Regions from separate parts of the Homo sapiens genome. Here region 1 is linked to region 2. The links are contacts of gene promoters, found by promoter capture Hi-C in blood cells and fetal thymus (Javierre and others, 2016). All regions are on one chromosome and are shown on one strand. The core of a region is centred on a gene start or on the middle of the fragment in contact, and the rest is flanking DNA. Distances in the headings are between cores, read along the strand shown. Region 1 has its middle 14 kb from the start of FGFR4. Region 2 holds the start of UNC5A (unc-5 netrin receptor A).

What was found. Contacts are between HindIII fragments. The CHiCAGO score rates a contact against its expected background, and 5 or more counts as called.
Region 1: a fragment that was not itself captured here is called in contact with the fragment with the promoter of UNC5A in region 2 in 4 of 17 cell types (endothelial precursors, M0 macrophages, M2 macrophages and 1 more); the score reaches 8.9 in endothelial precursors.

The regions. Positions count from the first base shown.
Region 1 is chr5:177,071,028-177,074,379 of GRCh38, forward strand. It overlaps a transcript of ZNF346 not described here. Among named protein-coding and RNA genes, the nearest start is that of FGFR4, 14 kb to the right of the region's middle. The HindIII fragment of the contact is 2,298 bases long and covers 893-3,190 here.
Region 2 is chr5:176,808,656-176,811,983 of GRCh38, forward strand. It overlaps UNC5A (unc-5 netrin receptor A), which reads left to right and starts at 1,904. Exons shown (of 15, transcript NM_133369.3): 1 at 1,904-2,165. The coding sequence starts at 2,096. The HindIII fragment of the contact is 10,823 bases long and covers 1-3,328 here.

The DNA of each region.
Region 1 (3,352 bases), core at 792-3,291, 260 kb after region 2:
ACCAGTGCAGACACAGATCTAGACATGTACCTGTATAGCAGCCAATGAGGGGTGGCATGAGGGACAAGGGCCTGGGATTCAGGAGCCCTAAGTGTTGGTCTGAGCACTGCCACCAGCTATATGTGACCTGAGGCCTTGTGAAGTGGAAGTTAGAAGAAATCACAGTTCCCAGCTCAAATCCTGAAGAAGTAGCAATGAACAGGTAGAGTTTCCTCCCAGAGCCCTAAGCCAGGTGTGGTGCACGTGCCTGCAATCCCATCTGCTCGGGAGGCTGAGGCAGGAGGATCGCTTGAGCCCAGGAGTTCAAATCCAGCCTGGGCAACATAATGGGAGCCTCTTAAAAAAAAAAAAAAGAAAGAAAGAAAAAAGGGGCCAGGCGCCAGGCGCGGTGGCTCACGCCTGTAATCCCAGCACTTTGGGAGGCTGAGGTGGGCGGATCACAAGGTTAGGAGATCGAGACCATCCTGGCTAACACGGTGAAACCCCATCTCTACTAAAAATACAAAAAATTAGCTGGTCGTAGTGGCGGGTGCCTGTAGTCCCAGCTACCGGGAGGCTGAGGCAGGAGAATGGCATGAACCCGGGAGGCGGAGCTTGCAGTGAGCTGAGATCGTGCCACTGCACTCCAGCCTGGGCGACAGAGCGAGACTCTGTCTCAAAAAAAAAAAAAGAAGAAGAAGAAGAAAGCCCTTCCTTCCCTCACAGCAGTCCCTGCCAGATGAGCTGTCCCCACCCCCAAACCAGATGCTCTGATGAGCAGTCACTAGTGTAAAATACAATAGGAAGAACACTTTCTCCCTCTGACCATCCATCCACCTAACCTCACCTCTCTGCCCTGTGCAAAGCCCTGTTACAGAGACAGGGCAGACCCGTCCCCGGCCTGTCTCTCCCAAGCTTACTGTTCATATATGCTGCTTCATCTGTCTAGGAATATCAGAACGCAGTTCTGTAAATGTTCAACTCTTCAGTGCAATGACCCCATTAGCCACTAGGTGGAGTCAGCTTCTTTTTTCTAGCAAGGTAGACCAGCCCTGGGACTTTACTGTTTGATTTAATGGGAAGAGAACAGGGTGACTTCACGAGCCCCTGTATATGCTATTTCAGTTAACCCTCAGGACAACTGGCAAAGACTTGATTTCACAGGAGAAAGTCAGGGACAAAGTCTTGCAGAGCTTACACAACCAAGAAGTAGCCTTGGAGAGAGATTTGATCTTAGCACTTCTGCTCATTCCCAAGGCCGATTTCCCCTTCCCTCAGGACATTTCCCTCAGGAGGCCCTCTCTGTTTGAGGGCTGTAACTTAGTCACCTGTCTAGAAGTACACCTGATGTCAGGCCAGCTCCACAGCCCTTCTTTTCCTTTTCTCCTTTGGGTGACAAACCTGCTCCATTCTCAGATCCTGTGGTTCCGAGGGACTGGCCCTGCTCTCTGATTCCAGGAGTGAGCCTGTGACCCGACTGAGTAATCACAGTCATAGTCTTCAGCTGTTAGTGTCCAGCATGTAAGGACAGCCTGCTTCAGAACTAAGCCAACACAGAGGAGGCCGGGCTCGGTGGCTCACACCTGTAACCCCAGTACTTTGGGAGGCCAAAGCAGGCAGATTACTTGAAGTCAGGAGTTCAAGGCCAGCTGGCCAACATGATGAAACCCTGTCTCTACTAAAAATACAAAAATTAGTCAGGCGTGGTGGCGCACGTCTGTAGTCCCAGCTACTCAGGAGGCTGAGGCAGGAGTATTGCTTGAACCCGTGAGGCGGAGGTTGCAGTGAGCCGAGATCACACCACTGTACTCCAGATAAGGAGAGACTCATTTCTGATGACTACCTGGATCCAGCTATGCCTGAAGCTAATATCCCCCAGGACTTTTTAGTTATGACTTTTCTTTAAGTCAGTTGAGTTTCTATAACTTGCAACCAAGATTTCTGCCTAATACTTGCTCCAGCTCCCCTTGTCAACCTGGGGACCTCCACTCATCCAGAGATCACTGGCCCCCAAGGCCAAGTTGGCTGCCCTTTGTGTTCCCAGATGCCCTGTGTTCCCCTCTAGCATAGCCCTTAATATGCTGTGTTACGATGATCTAATTCCCTGTCTCTTCTTTTAGACTAGAAACTGCTTGAGGGCAGGAATTGGGTCTTATGATACTGCATCCCTGGTCCCTAGCATAGGACTGTGCTTATGTTTTAATAACTGCTTGGTGATTGAATACATTAATGAATAAATGAATAAAAATGGGTATGGTCTGGTAGGGACCATTGCTGGGATTTCACAGGAAAGACATTTATTTTGTTTGTTTTTTGAAACAGCGTCTCACTCTGTCACACAGGCTGGAATGCAGTGGTGCAAACACAGCTCATTGCAGCCTCGACCTCACTGACTCAAGTGATCCTCCCACCTCAGCCTCCCGAGTAGCTGGGACTACAGGCGCACACCACCACACCCAGCTAATTATCTTATTTTTTGTAGACACAAGGTCCCACTGTGTTGCCCAGGCTGGTCTTGAACTCCTGAGCTCAAACGATCCTCCCACCTCGGCCTACCAGAGTGCTGGGATTGCAGACGTGAGCCACCGCACCTGGCCGGAAAGACTTATTGAGGGAGATGATCCTCTAGTGGTCATGAAGGTCAAAGGAGCCAGGTTGCTGGGGTGGGAGGAGGCTTAGTGAAAGGAACTAGAAGAGGCGAGTTGTGGAACACAGTTGATTGTTTCAATAATGGCCTCCCATGAATCATTGCCTCCCTGTGCCTGTGTCCTTTTGCAATGTGACTTTATCATTGCTCCCATCAAGATCGGGCGGGCGGGGGAGGGGGGGGGTCCATTTCCCAGTCTCTTGAATCTGAACTAGTCTTGTGAGTTGCTTTGATCAGAGAATTCAGTAACATGACTGTACGACTTCCAAGGTTAGGACTTAAGTGCTCATGCAGCTTCCGTTCCTGACCCTGTGAAAGGAAGTTTGGGCTAGACCATGTGGCGACCACAGACCAGGTAGAGAGAGAAGCCAACAGCCAGCTCCATACATGTGAGGGAGGACATCCCAGACCCTCTAGCATAGCCAATCCACAGCATAAGCAGAACTGCCACCTGAGCCCAGCTAATCACAGAATTGTGAGAAATAATACATTGTTTTAAATAATTAAGTTTGGGAACAGTTTGTGCAGTAAAGGCTCACAGAATCACTAGGTATAATAATCAGAAGCTTCCTAGTGTCTGTTTACCCTTCTTCCTATAATAAGCTTTTCTTTGAAAAACCCCACCCTCAGCTTATGTAGTCCGGGTGGGGAAGACCTCCACTCTCCTGGCTTTTGCCAGAACAGTTGAGAAGTTGCCAAGTGGGAATGTCTCGAGCCCAGAGCTGT
Region 2 (3,328 bases), core at 654-3,153:
TATACCCCAGCCCTCAATCCTCTTCCTTCATCCTCAGCCACCAGCCTCCAGTGCCCAATCCCCAGTGGGCCCCAAGGGCAGATCCTGCCACTGACTCTCCTCTCCCACCCACCTCTTTCCTGCAGAGGCTGAAGAGGGGTGTTATGGTGCCAACAGGAGCAGCCTGGGCACACACTGCTCCTACACACACACACACACACACACACACACACACACACGAGACATGTGAGTTGATCAGGCCCTGACACCGTGTACATTCAAACTGCCCCGAAAGCAAAGTTCCCAAACCAGAAGGTGGTGAACACTTTCCCCTGGGCTCACATGAAGTCTAAAAAATTATTTTTTACTAGTTAAAAATTTTAAATCAGAATATTTCACATACGACGGCTTCTGTTGAAAATTTGGAAGATGCGGCTATACTGTGCCCCGGTCCCCTCCCCCGACAACCAGCACCTGGAGCAGAAAAGGCAGCTGCCCCTTGAGATGGGATCCTTGTGCCTGTCCCCAGCACTGCCCTTTGCCTCCCTGGCGATGGAGCCCAGCGTCTGTATGGTTGCCTCTGGAGCTTTAGCTGGTGTTTTTTATAGTAGACTTAAGAGGAAAGCAAAACATTTTTCATAACCCTTCTCTATCAAAAGTGGGAAACAAAAGACAGACCGAGAGAGGGCCTCGTGTCTCAAGAAATATAGGAGAGCTCATATCTCTTTGTGGAAGCAAGACCATCCCTTACATCGCCTAGCCTGCAGCGCCAATTTATATTATCGACCGGCCCCGTAGGCGTTTGAGTTTGCGACCCTGCCCTCACCCTGCTCATTCCCCTCCCGACCCAGACTAGGACCCTCTCTTTTTCCGATCACTCCCCCCAGGCACACCGCACGCGGCTGTCATTTCCTTTCTCCTTCAAGGCAGCCCTCTGTTTATTTTAACCCGATTAGGGAATGGGGGTGGGGCACAGGAGACTCCAGCAGCGGTCACTGCTGGAGGCTCCAGGAGACGACGTGACTTGACCAAGGTCACAGAGCTGGAAGGTGAAGTCGCCTGGACCCTACCCCCGGTCTCCCTAGCTGCCAAAGCCCAGCTCGTTCCTTTACACCCACGTCGCGGGCGCCGTGCGCTCTCGGGGCTCAAACACCGCGCGCCCAGTCGGGTGTGCTGCGCCTGAAGGTTGTTTTCCTTCGGCGAACGGCGCCGAGGGGTTAGGGAAACCTTGGGTCATGGTGTGAGGCGCGCCCCTGGAATCCACCAGCCTGCGAGGCTGGGACTGCGGGTGTCCCCGAGTCTGGCCTGCCAGCTCTGGTGGCCAGGGCACCTCTGCGCGCGGGCCAGGGCCCCGGGGCTCTCCCGCAGTCCCCTAACCAAGCCGCGGGCTGGCAGCGTACCGCGGCGCCCGGACGACCCCGGAGCGCGGCCGCGAGGAAAGGGCGGGGGAGAGGACTGCAGCGGAACCTGCCCGGGGCACCCCTGCCCTGGGCGGCTCTCCGCAGGCTGGCGCCGCGCCGGGGTCGCCGCAGCCCCGGGCCCCTCCCGGGCCACCTGTGCGCAGACTGGCGGGCCCGCGAGAGCCCGGATCCGGAGCACCGATCCACTCCGGGTTTCAGACTCCTGCCCCTGTCCCTGGAGACCCCGCGGGGCGGTGGGAGGCCTCCACGCCCACCACCCCAAGCCCCTCCCTGGGGGAGCCTCAGGCATCGCCCAGAGGGATTCCCGGTGCTGGGGGTGGCCCGCGCGCGCTGCGCGGGGCGGCCCGGCCCCTCCTTCCTTCCCCCGCCCCTCCCAGCCGCCGCCCCGCTCCGTCGCTCCAGTCCGGGTTTTGCGGCGCCCACCGGCCCGCTCTCCGGCTGCGGGCTCCGCGGCGCGGCTGGCTCGGTGCGCGGCGCGGCTGGCGCTGCGCTCCGCCCCGGCTGCATTGCTGCGCTCCCGTGCCCAAGGGAGCCACGCGCCGCGTGCGCCCGGCAGCCGGCCGCCCGGAGGCAGCGCAGTCCGCTGGCATGGGCCCCGGGGGCGCCCCGAGCTGGGGCTCCGGGCTGAGGCGCTAAAGCCGCCCTCCCGCCCGCGGGGCCCCGCGCCCGGCCCGCCCGCCTGCCCGCCCGCGGCCATGGCCGTCCGGCCCGGCCTGTGGCCAGCGCTCCTGGGCATAGTCCTCGCCGCTTGGCTCCGCGGCTCGGGTGAGTCACGCCGCGCGCGCTCTGGGGAGGCTTGCGGGGGACCGTGCGCGCGAACGCTCGCTGCTCTGGGGGTCCCTGACCAGCGCTGCCAGACCCGGCTGGGAGCCCCCCGAGGCCAAACTTTGCGAGGCGGGACGCGGGGGGCTCTTCTTGCTGCTGCGCAGCTTCCCCGCGCGCTCTCCCGGAAGCCTGGGTTCTGCCAAGTCCAGGAGCAGCTGTCAGCCCGCGGGGCTGGCGAGTGTAGACACCCCACGCCTCCGGGTGGGGGAAGTTTGCTGGTTGCCTGGGCCCGGAGCAGGGCTGGGGGTTTGGATCAACCCCAGGGAGCCTGACTTTGAGGATTCGAAGATTAGAGGGTTTTGAGCCTATCCCAGTGCCCAGGAAATGGGGGGTGCGGGGAACGTTTAAGATACCTCTTCCCGGTAGCATCTGCCCTAAACAGCCACTCACAATCTCCCAGCTTGGCACCTGGCCTCTGCCCACGTCCAGAACACAGTGTCCTCCTCTGTCCCCGCCACACACGCTCTCACACGCACACACTCAGGCGTGGAGGCGCATACACCAGCCCCCAGTCCTTGCAGCCAGCACAGTCAAAGCGCCGCGGTCCCGGTGGCCGGGGCTGTGGCTCCTGGCCTCCCTGGTGCGGGGGGCCAGAGTTGTGTGTGGTTGGTCCGCCAGTTTCCCCTTCTTCCTTAAACTCCATAGCCTTTCTTGGCCCCTGCATGCCCCATTGGTCACCCTAACCCACTGCTAACTCAGCCCTCAGCCCACCTCATTCCCTTGGGAGGGGCTTGGGGGGAGGAAGTTCCCCTGCATCCTTTGTCTGCTGTCCCTGAGCCTTCACCTAGGCTGAGCTGTGGGGGCCTCCTGATCTCTGCCCCCCATGCACTTAGCTGAGTTGAGCGTATGTGTCTGTGGTGGTGGGGGGTGGGTGCCATTTGTGTGGTCAAGGGGGCTTGAGGCTTACCCTGGCAATTCTCGATTCTTGCTGCCCCTAGAACCTGGGCGGTTACTCCCCAGCCTGGCCAGGCCGCTGCTTATAACAGGGGTGTTGGAAGGGAGCACTGGGGTTTCTGAGCTGCCAAACCAGATTGATCAGAGATCAATGAGTGGGAGCTCAGGAGCCAGCCTGATGATTGAGGCCGATGGCTGTTTCCTTAAAG